Linked DNA regions of Homo sapiens: regions 1 and 3 are each linked to region 2. The links are contacts of gene promoters, found by promoter capture Hi-C in blood cells and fetal thymus (Javierre and others, 2016). All regions are on one chromosome and are shown on one strand. The core of a region is centred on a gene start or on the middle of the fragment in contact, and the rest is flanking DNA. Distances in the headings are between cores, read along the strand shown. Region 1 overlaps NETO1 (neuropilin and tolloid like 1). Region 2 holds the start of FBXO15 (F-box protein 15). Region 3 overlaps NETO1 (neuropilin and tolloid like 1).

Region 1 (3,870 bases), core at 1,190-3,689, 1.4 Mb before region 2:
CCATGTTGGCCAGGCTGGTCTCGAACTCCTGACCTCAGATGATCCACCAGCCTCGGCCTCCCAAAGTGCTGAGATTACAAGTGTGAGCCACCATGTCTGGCCGAGTTCTAATGTTAACAGAAACCTTCTTCACTAGGTGTAGCCTCAATTTTACAAATAAAGAAGGTGAGGGCCACATTGGCTCATGCCTGTAATTCTGACATTTTGGGAGGCTGAGGTGGGTAGATCACTTGAGGCTAGGAGTTGGGCAACATGGCAAAATGCCATCTCTACTAAAAATACAAAAATTAGCCAGGGGTGATGGTGCAGACTTGTAATCCCAGCTACTCAGGAGGCTGAGGCATGAAAATCGCTAGAGCCTAGGAGGCAGACGTTGCAGTGAGCTGAGATAGCCCCACTGTACTGCAGCCTGGGCGTCAGAGTGAGACTGTCTCAAAAAAGAAAAAGAAAAAGAGAAAAAGAAAGAAAAGAAAAGAAAGGAAAAGAGAAAGAAAGAAAAAGAGAGAAAGAAAGAAAAGAAAGAAAGAGAAAGTAAAGGTGAAACTCAGAGGATTCAAACAGATTTTTAAAGAGCACATAAATAGTAAGAAATAAAACTAAATTTGATTTTCACTGCAGTACACCACTTTTATATATTGTAATGTTGCTTATGAAACTGCATTTACCAACACAGCTGTCTACTTCCTTGCTTATCTACCAGGATGCTATTACGTGAATTTATGCCAAACAATTATCTGTGACTGAAATACAAGATTTGCTTTCCAGTGTTGCTATTTCTGTGTATACTTCATGATGAGTGCTTTGGGGGTTACTCAGGAGCTCTGGCATTCAATGTTGAATGACAGATGATGAACAACAGCACTTTGACATGATGATGCAACAAAACAGCACTGGAAGAAATATCATCCAGACACAGAGTCATTGGATTTGGAAAGTCATATATTTTATGGTGGACAAGTTCTGAGGGGGGTTACTCTACATTGTTACTCTTTATAGATGATACTTTTGTTCCATGTCGATCATAAAATGAAGTCTACACATGATTTAGGAAAAATGATTTATTTTTATAATGCATTATAGGATATAAAAAATATCTTCCAATGAATGGTCATTTGAACCTCACACGCTGTAAGGTGGAGAGAAGGTGTTATAATACATACTTTTACAGATGAGGAAACACAAAACTACGGGGTTAATATGAATAAGTATCAACTTCTTTCAGCAGTACGTACTATGTTGAATATTAACGTGGTTATATTACACATTGGTGAAGAGTGTTGGTTGATCTTGTGGTTGGTGAGGTTGGCTTCAAAGCTTGATTCATCATTGTTTATTGTGTAATCTTAAAAAAGTTACTAAAACTCTTCAGTTTCCTCATCTGTACAATAAATAACAACAAATATTATTAATTAGTCATAGAATTGCTAAGATGACCAAGGAAAAAAATTACATGTAAAACACTCAAAATGGTGTTTGGCATGTGACCCTCAGTATGTTCGCTAGTCAACCATCACCTTGAAACAATAAAGTATAGTAGAAGTAAAAAAGCCAGACAAATATTCCTGGACATCTAACAATCTGCCCGTTACTCTTTCTCATGTCTTGTTTCTACACTGTTTTGATTCTACTGTATTTCACTCCCATTCAATTTAGCAAACATACCTGTCAGAGGCTTCTACTGAAAGTAGAAATCTTAAGTTCCATTCTGCTGAGATCTTAAAATATTCTCCCTTGAATAAAGTGTAAATTCCTTTGGATAGTATTCCATGCACTCAGAAATCATGATGTAAACTCAAACCTACTCTGTCAAATATACTTAGTATGTCTCCTGTCTATGTTCCAACCAGCTCAATTAGATGATCTTCTGAGCCTACATCTGCTTTAATTACTCTAGGTGGAAATTTCTCCCTGCACTACTATTTGACCATTGTCTCCATTCTTCAAGACCTGCTTAGAAGGTCAGTTATTCACAAAGCCTCTCTTGATCTTAAGAAGATACCTATATTCTCAGGTTTCTGCTACAAACTTCTTCATTATAAAGCATCATGTCTATTGAATTAACATTTGAATTTATTTTTATCTTCCATGGAAGATGATGAAGGAGGTAACCAGGGCTTTGCAATCAGCTTTGCATGATGGCCAACACAGCACATAATGTTGGGCTTAATTTTCCTTATACAGCTCCTGTAAGCAGTCTGCCTTCTACAGGGCTCTGTAATTGTGTTCCTTCCTAGACTGCCTTCTTCATTTTACCCTCAAAGTACTTAGGAAGGAGCTTGGTAGACAGACTGTGCAAGCTCAAAACAGCCTAGCTATATTGATATCACACTTAATGGAAAAGTGAATAAAGAGTACAAATTTGATAATGTGATATAAAAAGAATGTTTTATTTTAAATAATTTATACATTGTTTTCTGGTCATTTTTAAGTTTTGTGTCAGTATCTGTGACTATTAAGAGAGGGCACAAAAACAATTTTTCAAAGAGCAAACCACTATAAAATAGCATGCCTCAGAGGTTGGAAAGATGGCAGAAGTTGGGGACAAAAAAGAACATGTTGGCTGCACAGTACTTACAGATATAAAGGAGTAGTTTAACTACATGATCATACTGTTTCAGGAATAAGGAGATTCTGGAAACCAACCCAAGTAAATACACAAGTCCAAAGCAGGTTGAGTTTATTTTTCCTACCTCTGAGGAACTAGAGGCATTTTAAGAGAGCATTTACCTCTTTAATAATACACAAGAAAGTACAGAATCAGAGGCTACAAGAAAATGATGAGTTGATATGAGTGTCTGACATCAGTCACCCTAATTGTTATTTTTATTACCCTGTTTTATTTATTTTGATGATACAATTCAGTTAAATTTGTGGTACAATTCAAACAAGTTTATTAATAAAATGAATCATAATTGTAAATTAACAAAGGGCCTCAGATTTATTTAGCAGGATTATTTATAAAAACATTTCTGGCTATTTTAACAGTGTACTTTTATTTTTCTACCTTATTACACCTTTAAGATGGGCTTGGGAAATATTAATTAAGTGCATAGAGATTGATAATTAACTCAAGACCTGTTTATTTTGTTGTTGAATCTATTTTACAATTTCTTGGCTGGGTCCTTTACGCTAGAGTGCAATAGATAGAAATGAATCCATGGAGGGAAAAGGGCACAGAGAAAAATGGCACCGAAGCTAGCTCGCCTCAGTGCAATTAGACAAAACCCTAACTCACTTTTCAAAGCATATTTATTTAGAATTCAAAGAATTTTAAAAATGTTGTTTATTTAACTTCCCTTCAGAGAGGGAATCTGACATGACTCATTTTCATCAGAGATACACAAACTTCATAAGATGCTATTATTTATTTCACTGACAAAACATCAGTAAATTAATTGCCGCCACTTTAATCAAGGTAATAGGAACCAGGGGGTCATATCTTGTAATTTATTATGATATTCTGAGGTTGAGGAAAACCCATTCATGGAATTTTTTTAAAGCTGTAAAATTTGAGGAAGACCCGAATTAAATTCCTAAGGGAAAAATACAGAAAAAAATGATACAGAAGCTTAAGTGAATATTAAAGTAATGCCAACCGTCTAAGTTACTTAACACTGAGGATCATAACTTATGGAGTCATCAGACTCACGGAAATACTTCTAGAGCAAAAGTAAATGTGAAACAGAAAAACCAGCAACACCACAATGTGATTTGTTCTCCATTAAAAGCCCAAAGACACTGATCTCCAATTATGTGGACAGCCACATTTTGGTTACAAAATCAAATTCAAGTTAATTATGGCAAATCAAACACCACCTATGTCTACTTTGCAAGATAATGCTTAAAATTGGTATGTATATAAAAACATAC
Region 2 (4,236 bases), core at 1,445-3,944:
ATGCCTCTATCTTTGGCTAAAACATTTAACAGGGCTTAGTTAGTTCAATTCTACAAATACTTCTTAATCATATACTCTGCACAAGGTAATGTGTAAGTGCTTTAAGACATTTCATCCTTTATTTAATTGGAATATGAAGGCTATTTTATTACAAACATGTTTTCACACTTTTAAAACGTCAAAGCTTATTTCTTGCTGTTTTGTTTTTTCACAATTAAAATGGATCTCATAGAGTCCCTCATTTCAGTTTACAAGGCTAAGGCTCTAACAAGGCAACTAAAGAAACTTAAGGTCCCAAGCTAGAAGCAAAGACAGTCTCTGAGACGCCCATCTCCTTAATGTCCTGTCAGAGCTCTCTGTACCATGTCTTACATGAGACCATACATCTTATCAGTGTACCTTTTAACACTATTGGAAACACATTTCTATTTATCCATAAAATAAACCAACTGCACTTTTTTTTTTTTTTTTTTTTTGCGACAGAGTCTGGCTCTGTCGCCCAGGCTGGAGTGCAGTGGCGCTATCTCGGCTCACTGCAAGCTCCGCCTCCTGGGTTCACGCCATTCTCCTGCCTCAGCCTCCTGAGTACCTGAGCCTACAGGCGCCCGCCACCATGCCGGGCTAATTTTTTTGTATTTTTAGTAGAGACGGGGTTTCACAGTGTTAGCCAGGATGGTCTCGATCTCCTCACCTCCAGATCTGCCCGCCTCCGCCTCCCAAAGTGCTGGGATCACAGGCGTGAGCCACTGCACCCGGCCCCAATTGCACATTTTTAAGGTCCACATAATTAACAAATCAGCAAGTTCTATTTATGTTTTTATGCGAATCTATACGTCTACAAGGTTAAGTGTAGACATACACTGATACATTTAGCAAGATAAATTTAGTTTGAAAACACTTTTTTTCAAGTGACAGGTTTTTGTCTGATAGCTTTCAATAAGTCCAATATTTTAAAAACCTAATGACTGTGCTTCATTTTAAATATCTGGCAAATCAAATAAATTACAGCAGGTACAAATTAAGCCAACTTAATACGCTTTCTGCTACACTTCTTACAGTTTGTGATATTTATACATATTCACATTTTGTGTTAAAAGGGAACACTGATTCCTTAACAACATCTAATTTTCCACAGCGATATATTAAAATAACCACCTGCTTTGACCATAGTCAATCATTCTATTTTTAGCAGCGGACTTTTCTTTACCAAAAATAATGCATACATTTCCAAATCAGCTTGAAATGCAGGTTCCCATGCCAGGCATAATGACAGGCCCTCTAATTATATCAATCCAGGAAGTTCACTCAACTTACAAAGGATAAAAGATTCATCATATAAAAATCATTCTGCTTCCCCCTAATAGAGCACTATGTAAAGACTAATTTTAGTAATAGCAGCAAATTGATTAAAAGTTCAAGTTTCCTATTTAAATTCCTGCTTTTTCTCCTACATAAAAGAATTTTTGCAGGCATTGTCACCATTCTATTTGTGACAAGGCTTGTGGTATGTCTAGCATTATAGGTATTCAATTAAGAACTATTATCACAGCACTAAGCAACAGGGCTGGGCTTCTGAAAACAGGTAAGTGGAAGTAATGGAGACCTAGAGAGGACACAGGACATAGTTCTGGAGATTCAGGGGGAAAAAACAAGTAGTTCAACTAGTATGTAATAGACTCCCTTTGTGTGCTTAAACATAGACCATTGGTTTATTAGAAGGCAAAATATGCATGACTTTCCCTATTTATAAATCAAGGAGTCTTACAAGCAGAAAGATAATCCTCAAGAATGTAAACCATTCTTGGCATTATCCCTCCATCTGTAAACTAACTGCAGTGATGGGTACACAGCTAGGGAACAGCTCACGATATAATGAGAGGGATTTCATAAGGTACCATTATGCATGCTGATACTTCTGATGCACTGGCTCATTTTACTTCTTCACGCTGAAGATGCTTCTGGAAAGCAGATGAGCAAGACCTGGCAATGTAGATGGCAACTTAGCCTTGACGTTGGAGGTGCAGAAAGTGCTGCCCCCCACCCGCCAGACCAACCTGCCTGCCCGAGGTATCTGCTTGGGGGATGAGGGTGTCAACTGATAAGGTTTTGATGAACAGACTCTACTTCCCTAAGTTGTAAGGTCATGAAAAACACGAAGGGAGATTCTTGGTTACAGAAGAGCGAAAATACGAAGGCAGGGGCGGAGCACACGTGAATTTAGGGCACGCATCCCGGAGAAACGACCTCTTGGACCTGCACCTGTCCTGGCAGGTGCGCGCATCCCCGGCCACAGGCGCCGCAAGAAAAAATATTTCCCCGAGAGGCTACTCTATTTGTGTCATAACTTAGGGTACCCCACGTTGCAGGGTAGAAAGGATTTCCTCCGGTCGTTCTTCCATACCCTTCTCACGTTGAAGACGGCCACGGGCCTTGCGCCAAGCTGGACGAATAAAATACACGGTGAAGAGAGCGGGGCCGCGCAGTGACGGGCTTCCCGCCAGGGGACCCCACCCGCAGGCCCTACAGTCACCTGCACCCAAAGGCCCTGGCGCGCCCCCGGGCCGCGCCACCGCCCCTGCTGGGCCCGCGCAGCGTCTGGAGGCCGAGCCAGTGCTGCTGCAAGATCCGACCGCGTCCAGTCGCCATAGAGACAAGGAGTTCACCACAGGACCGCGCCAGGGCTGAAACGAAGAGTGCACGCACCGCCCCCACGCCCGCACGTCGCCACACCCCTTATGCGCATGCGCGCGTGAGCAAAAGTAACGGTATGCCCACCCTTGCGCAGACGGCACCGCGCCAGACACCCGCTCACAGAGCGGGCTTCTAGAAACTTCCGGGCCTCGGCTTCCTTACCCACCCCTAACATTCTGCCGCCTAGGGCGCCAAGCCAAGTTCGCGGCTTAACCATTTAGGAAACCGGTGCCTGCTTTGCAGCGGCCTCGTTCATCCCCACTTGCTGACTCTTTATTGTCCAGTTTTTCTGAAAACACAGTAAAACGCAAAAACTAAATCATTTGCCCACGCGGAATTGGCAAGACCACAGTCCAAGGGGGTATTTCCCACTGTGCACAGTCCTCTCTATAAGGATCAGGAAAACACGTAGATTGTAACTGCTAATTTGGCTTTTGCAAGTCCCGCCTGAACCACGTAGGGTGGGTGGTACCAATTCCCCCACCAACACCCCACTTTCCGCCGCTCCAGGGACGCGCAGCGTCTGCGCCGACGCTGGGCGCGGAGGCGTCTGGGGGCGCGGGAAGGACCTGCGCCGTGCTCTGGCCGCCTTGAATTGTGGGAGATGTAGTCTCTTTTGCGCGCCTCTTTGCCGTATCCCAGTTAAGAGCGAGGTTTTCAAACTACTATTCCCAGGAAGACGGGGGTTTCCCAGGTGACTTTGCGAAGGCATGGCGGGGACACTGTGAATGTCAGCCCAGAAGGTGATCAGAGCCTGTTAATTAAAATGGAAAGAAGACAGAAGGGAAGGTAGACATCAGGTTCTCCCTGGAGACTTTTCGTTTTCATTTACGCTGCGGAAACTGACGTTTTTGCCTAACACCCCATGTAATGTAAACGTATAGGCTTGAGTACGTGTCCGGCCGCATGTGTAGTGAACCCTAAAGCTTTCCTAATTGTAGTTAGCATCGTCCCTAAGCGGAACGATTTTCCGTGAACATGATTTGTACTTTTCTACGAGCCGTACAGTATACGGAGAAGCTGCACAGGTCCTCGGCAAAGCGATTGCTTTTGCCATACATCGTGCTTAACAAAGCGTGCTTGAAGACTGAGCCCAGTTTGAGATGTGGGCTTCAATATCAAAAGAAAACGCTGCGACCTAGATGTATTCTTGGAGTCACCCAGAAAACCATCTGGACGCAGGGACCGAGCCCCCGAAAAGCAAAGGAGGATGGCAGCAAACAAGTGTCTGTGCACAGGAGTCAGAGAGGGGGAACCGCCGTCCCAACATCACAAAAAGGTAAAAAGGAGTACTTTAATGATTGGGCTTTCAACAGACATGACAAGAGCTGCCAATGCCCTTTTATACCAAGTTCACTGCTAAAGGTGAAAAAGCAATTCACATGAATTTTTAAAAACCGTTTAAACATAATTTAGAACTAGAACATATAGATCTACAGTTTTCTTCACAGATTGGAACTCAGATGTGAAAGTTGATCTTGAATTTGATATAACTTTTTTTCATTATGTTTGGGAAATTTTTCTCAAGTTATATTGGCTCTGTTA
Region 3 (4,029 bases), core at 347-2,846, 1.4 Mb before region 2:
ACCATATCAGAGTACATTTACATCTTCTTGCTTTATTTCTTGGGTTCAACTTTTATCAGCCTTGAATATTTACTAAAGCTTACTTTTTTAAATTAAAACTTCTAACCCTTGGGATGGTCTAGAATCTATTACTCTGTTTGGTGAGGGATGGAAGCAAAGCTTAACACTTACATGAATATGTAAATATGACACATATCAACATTCTATAGTTAGGTCATGAATTCACATTGAAGAGCAAAATCTAGCATACTTACTTTTATTTATTACTAATGTTTATCAGTTCAGGTAACTAAGGTGATTTTCCCCCTGCCTTCTCAGGCCGCTATGCTAGTGTCTTACAGACCCCTGTAGCTGAGCCCCCTGAGGCTGTCACAGGTCCCTTATTTCCTCTGTCCTCTCTCTCGGCAATTTTCATCAGACACAGAGCCCCCACTAACGAGGGGGCTTACATCCCCAGCTCTGACTACTGTGTGAGATCCAGACTTACCCTGAATATTGAAATTCCTACTTAACGTCTCCATTTGGAACTGTAATTACCATCGCAAACAGAATATGGCTGATGGGCCTAAGCAAAATGATTATCACCCTCTTCCTCTTATCCACATTTTCCTTTTTAATTCTCACCTCCCACACCTTCCTGGCATTAACAAAGGGCACAACCATCCCCTCAGGTGTTCAGGCGAAAGGCTCAAGACCATCCTTGGGTCCTTTCTTCCCCGGATACCGTTGAGCCAGTGGCCATCTCTTGCATGGCTCTATCTCAATACAAAGCTCTTGTTGAGGTCTCCACTGCTGTGAATGAGCCAGGCCACCATTCACTGACAGCAATCTTACATGGAGTTCAGGGACACAGAAACCATGGGGACCTTGGCCATCTGAAAGTATAAATCAGGCCACATTTCACTTTGTTGAAGACACCCCAAAACACTTTCCAATAATGTTAGGTTAATTTCCAAACTCCTTGTACCCCTTAGTACACAGCAAGTGATTTATATTCTCACAGCCTCTGCTCACCCTAAACATTTATAGAATTCTTCCTAACCTCAGATGTCACCCACCATAACCACCAGGTCATCCTGCCCTCATCCTTCCCACCACATCACCCATGTTGGTTTTCCCACAATACATACTAGGGCTTGGGCTGATCCCTTTGAGTTAACTTATCTGTGCCTTGTTGCTTCCTCTTAAAAAGTCTGGCAACCAGATGTACCACTTTGTAGATGCTTCATAAATACTTGGTGACAGACTATATATCACAATAAAAATTCTTTTTTTTTTTAATTGGAGATGAAGTCTCACTCTGTTGTCCAGGCTGGAGTGAAGTGGCATGATCTCAGCTCACTGCAACTTCTGCTGCCCAGGTTCAAGCAATTCTCGTGTCTCAGCCTCCCGAGTAGCTGGGATTACAGGCACCTGTCACTGTGCCTGGCTAATTTTTGTATTTTCCGTAGAGATGGGGTTTCATCATCTTGGCCAGGATGGTCTTGAACTTCTGGCCTCATGATCCACCCACCTTGGCCTCCCAAAGTGCTGAGGTTACAGGCGTGAGCCACAGTGCCAGGCCAGAATAAAAATTATTTAAGCAACACAATGAATATTAAATGCCATCTTCTCATTAATGTCTGACAATGATCTTAAATTTTTAAATAACAGCAAAACTTTAAAAAATAAACTTGAAAGAAAATAAAACATTAGAGATATCAATTATGAGTAATCAACTGAAGATGCAAATTTTTAAAAACTTCAAAAATGTCATTAAAAATACATAGCTTGGCTGGGCACAGTGGCTAACATCTGTAATATCAGCACTTCGGGAGGCCGAGGTGGGTGGGTCATTTGAGGTCAGGAGTTCAAGACCAGCTCGGTCAACATGGTGAGAACTCATCTCTACTAAAAATACAAAAAGTAGACTGGTGTGGTGGTGCATGTCTGTAATCCCTCTACTCAGGAGGCTGAGCGGGGAGAATCGTTTGAACCCAGGAGGTGGAGGTTGCAGTGAGTCGAGATTGTGCCACTGCCCTTCAGCCTGGGTGACAGAGTGAGACTCAGTCTCAGAAAAAAAAAAATATGTGTGTGTGTGTGTGTGTGTGTGTGTGTGTGTGTGTAGCTTGCTACTATCATTTTTAATTGTGGTACTCTACACAAACAAAAATATAAAAAATATATAAAATATATTTGGCCATCAGAACTTCCCACAAAACAATTTTTTTCCAAAACAAATGGAAAAATTTCCCTTGTCAGCACATTGAAACTTAAAATGGCCCATAGGCTATGTAATTAGAGGAAATGACATTTTATTTGAAAAATGGTGACCAGACTTGAGGCCAGAAATAGATTTGTGTATCTTTTTTTCATGTCCTTTATCACCTTCATAGTTGTTTTGAAAAATCAATATGTTTTCAAAACTCTGTTCCAATATGACTTTTACTTTGAAAATATCCAGTATTATCAAGATGTACATATATTAATCTGTTTTTATACAAGAAATTCTGTTCACAAATTTCAATTTGATCTCACACATATTTATGAGATTCCTCCCCAATCTTTGTGCAAAAATTACATATTCTTACTGTTCTGAGAGATATTACATTAAGAAACACATCTTCATTGGAAACTTACATTCCATATATAAAAAATCTTTCCTTGTATGTGGGGTGAATTTATCCGTTATTATCATAATGTATCCATTATTTTATCTTCCCTAGAAATTACTACATACTTTTATACTTCCATTATGTCTGCCTTGATTCAGCCCCACAATGATCTCTTCAATGTGTGTAGTTAGACATTACAATTACAATAAGGAGGGTATTAAATATCTTTGGCATCTGCATGCTGATTACTATTAGGCCCTGGACATGTGGGCCAGTGTTGGTTTTCATAATATGTACATGTCAGTAGCAGGTGGCTAGTTTAGACACATTATTCTTTTATAAAGGTGCAATACTTGCTCTCATTGAACATGCCAAGTCCCACAAAGGGGGCCTGCAGTAAATGAAGATTAGAGCCAAGCGTAAACACATCACCATGACCTCAAGCTTAAAAATCTGCTAGTTCAGAGGCTATCAATTAAAAATAATAATTTTCTGTTTCCATATAACAAACATATGCTGTGTATTTTCAGGGGCAGACATAAACCACAATGGTTGTAAAGCTAGAATCAGACACATTAATATGTATTATTCCCAATGATTCTACTAAAAATTACAGGAAATTTCCTGCCTTTATTCTTGTCCAAGTGATTCCTTGCAGACCCACACACTTTATTTAAAAAAATTATTCTAAATGGTTCGATGGAAAGTTCTGCAATATTTTCTCAGTAACTCAATGAATAGGCAAAGAAGCAAAATTACTTAAGATACTTGTTTTGGTCAAATTACTTAAGAAAATTAACTTTAAATTTTAAGTATTTCATCAAACTACATGTCTGTACACATAATACTTCTTCAATGGTTTAAGTAACCATATCAGTAATAAAAGTCCATCGATAATTCATTTCAAATATTAGAATACTTTTGACAGTTGTTTTCTTTATGGTGCCATCAAACTCAATCAAAAGCTTTAAAAAAAACAGGAAGGAAGGGAGGTAAGAGGAAGGAAGGAAGGAAGGAAAGAAATGAGGGAGGAAAGGAGGGTTGGTTGGCTTCTGGTAGATTATACAATTTTATTTCATTTTCCTTTGCTCAATAGCCTCACTGTATTTGAAAGTGTTAACTACCCAAGTTTCAGTATGTTGTTATCTCACTAACGGATACAATACTAGCCACCTTCTGCTGACCATTTGCTACGTTCCAGACATACATTTAAAACTTTCAGTTGCCCTGTGATGTTTTCTCTGTTTTACAGAAAGGAAATTGAAGATTAAAGTCCAGGCATCACACGTAAGAAAGTGGAAGAACTGGCTGACACTGAACATGTGCTCTTACACATTGTAATTCCATTTCAGATCTTTTTCAAAAGCAAAACAATTTTCTGAAATGGCTACTTTGTGATTCTGGTTCTAAAAACGTTTATCTTTTATTTTAAAAT

The links. The method cuts DNA at HindIII sites, captures the fragments that hold promoters and counts their contacts. A CHiCAGO score of 5 or more calls a contact.
Region 1: a fragment that was not itself captured here is called in contact with the fragment with the promoter of FBXO15 in region 2 in 1 of 17 cell types (endothelial precursors); the score reaches 6.2 in endothelial precursors.
Region 3: a fragment that was not itself captured here is called in contact with the fragment with the promoter of FBXO15 in region 2 in 1 of 17 cell types (endothelial precursors); the score reaches 10.7 in endothelial precursors.

What each region holds. Positions count from the first base shown.
Region 1 is chr18:72,741,393-72,745,262 of GRCh38, forward strand. NETO1 (neuropilin and tolloid like 1) reads right to left here. Exons shown (of 11, transcript NM_138966.5): 11 at 2,364-3,870. Among named protein-coding and RNA genes, the nearest start is that of MIR548AV, 110 kb to the right of the region's middle. The HindIII fragment of the contact is 2,254 bases long and covers 1,313-3,566 here.
Region 2 is chr18:74,145,140-74,149,375 of GRCh38, forward strand. FBXO15 (F-box protein 15) reads right to left here and starts at 2,695. Exons shown (of 10, transcript NM_001142958.2): 1 at 2,531-2,695. The coding sequence starts at 2,646. TIMM21 (translocase of inner mitochondrial membrane 21) reads left to right here and starts at 3,384. Exons shown (of 6, transcript NM_014177.3): 1 at 3,384-3,970. The coding sequence starts at 3,670. RefSeq lists a silencer at 2,425-2,574 and enhancers at 3,265-3,384, 3,415-3,464, 3,545-3,634. The HindIII fragment of the contact is 3,433 bases long and covers 183-3,615 here.
Region 3 is chr18:72,764,153-72,768,181 of GRCh38, forward strand. The region is part of intron 7 of NETO1 (neuropilin and tolloid like 1); the gene reads right to left. Among named protein-coding and RNA genes, the nearest start is that of MIR548AV, 87 kb to the right of the region's middle. The HindIII fragment of the contact is 2,879 bases long and covers 158-3,036 here.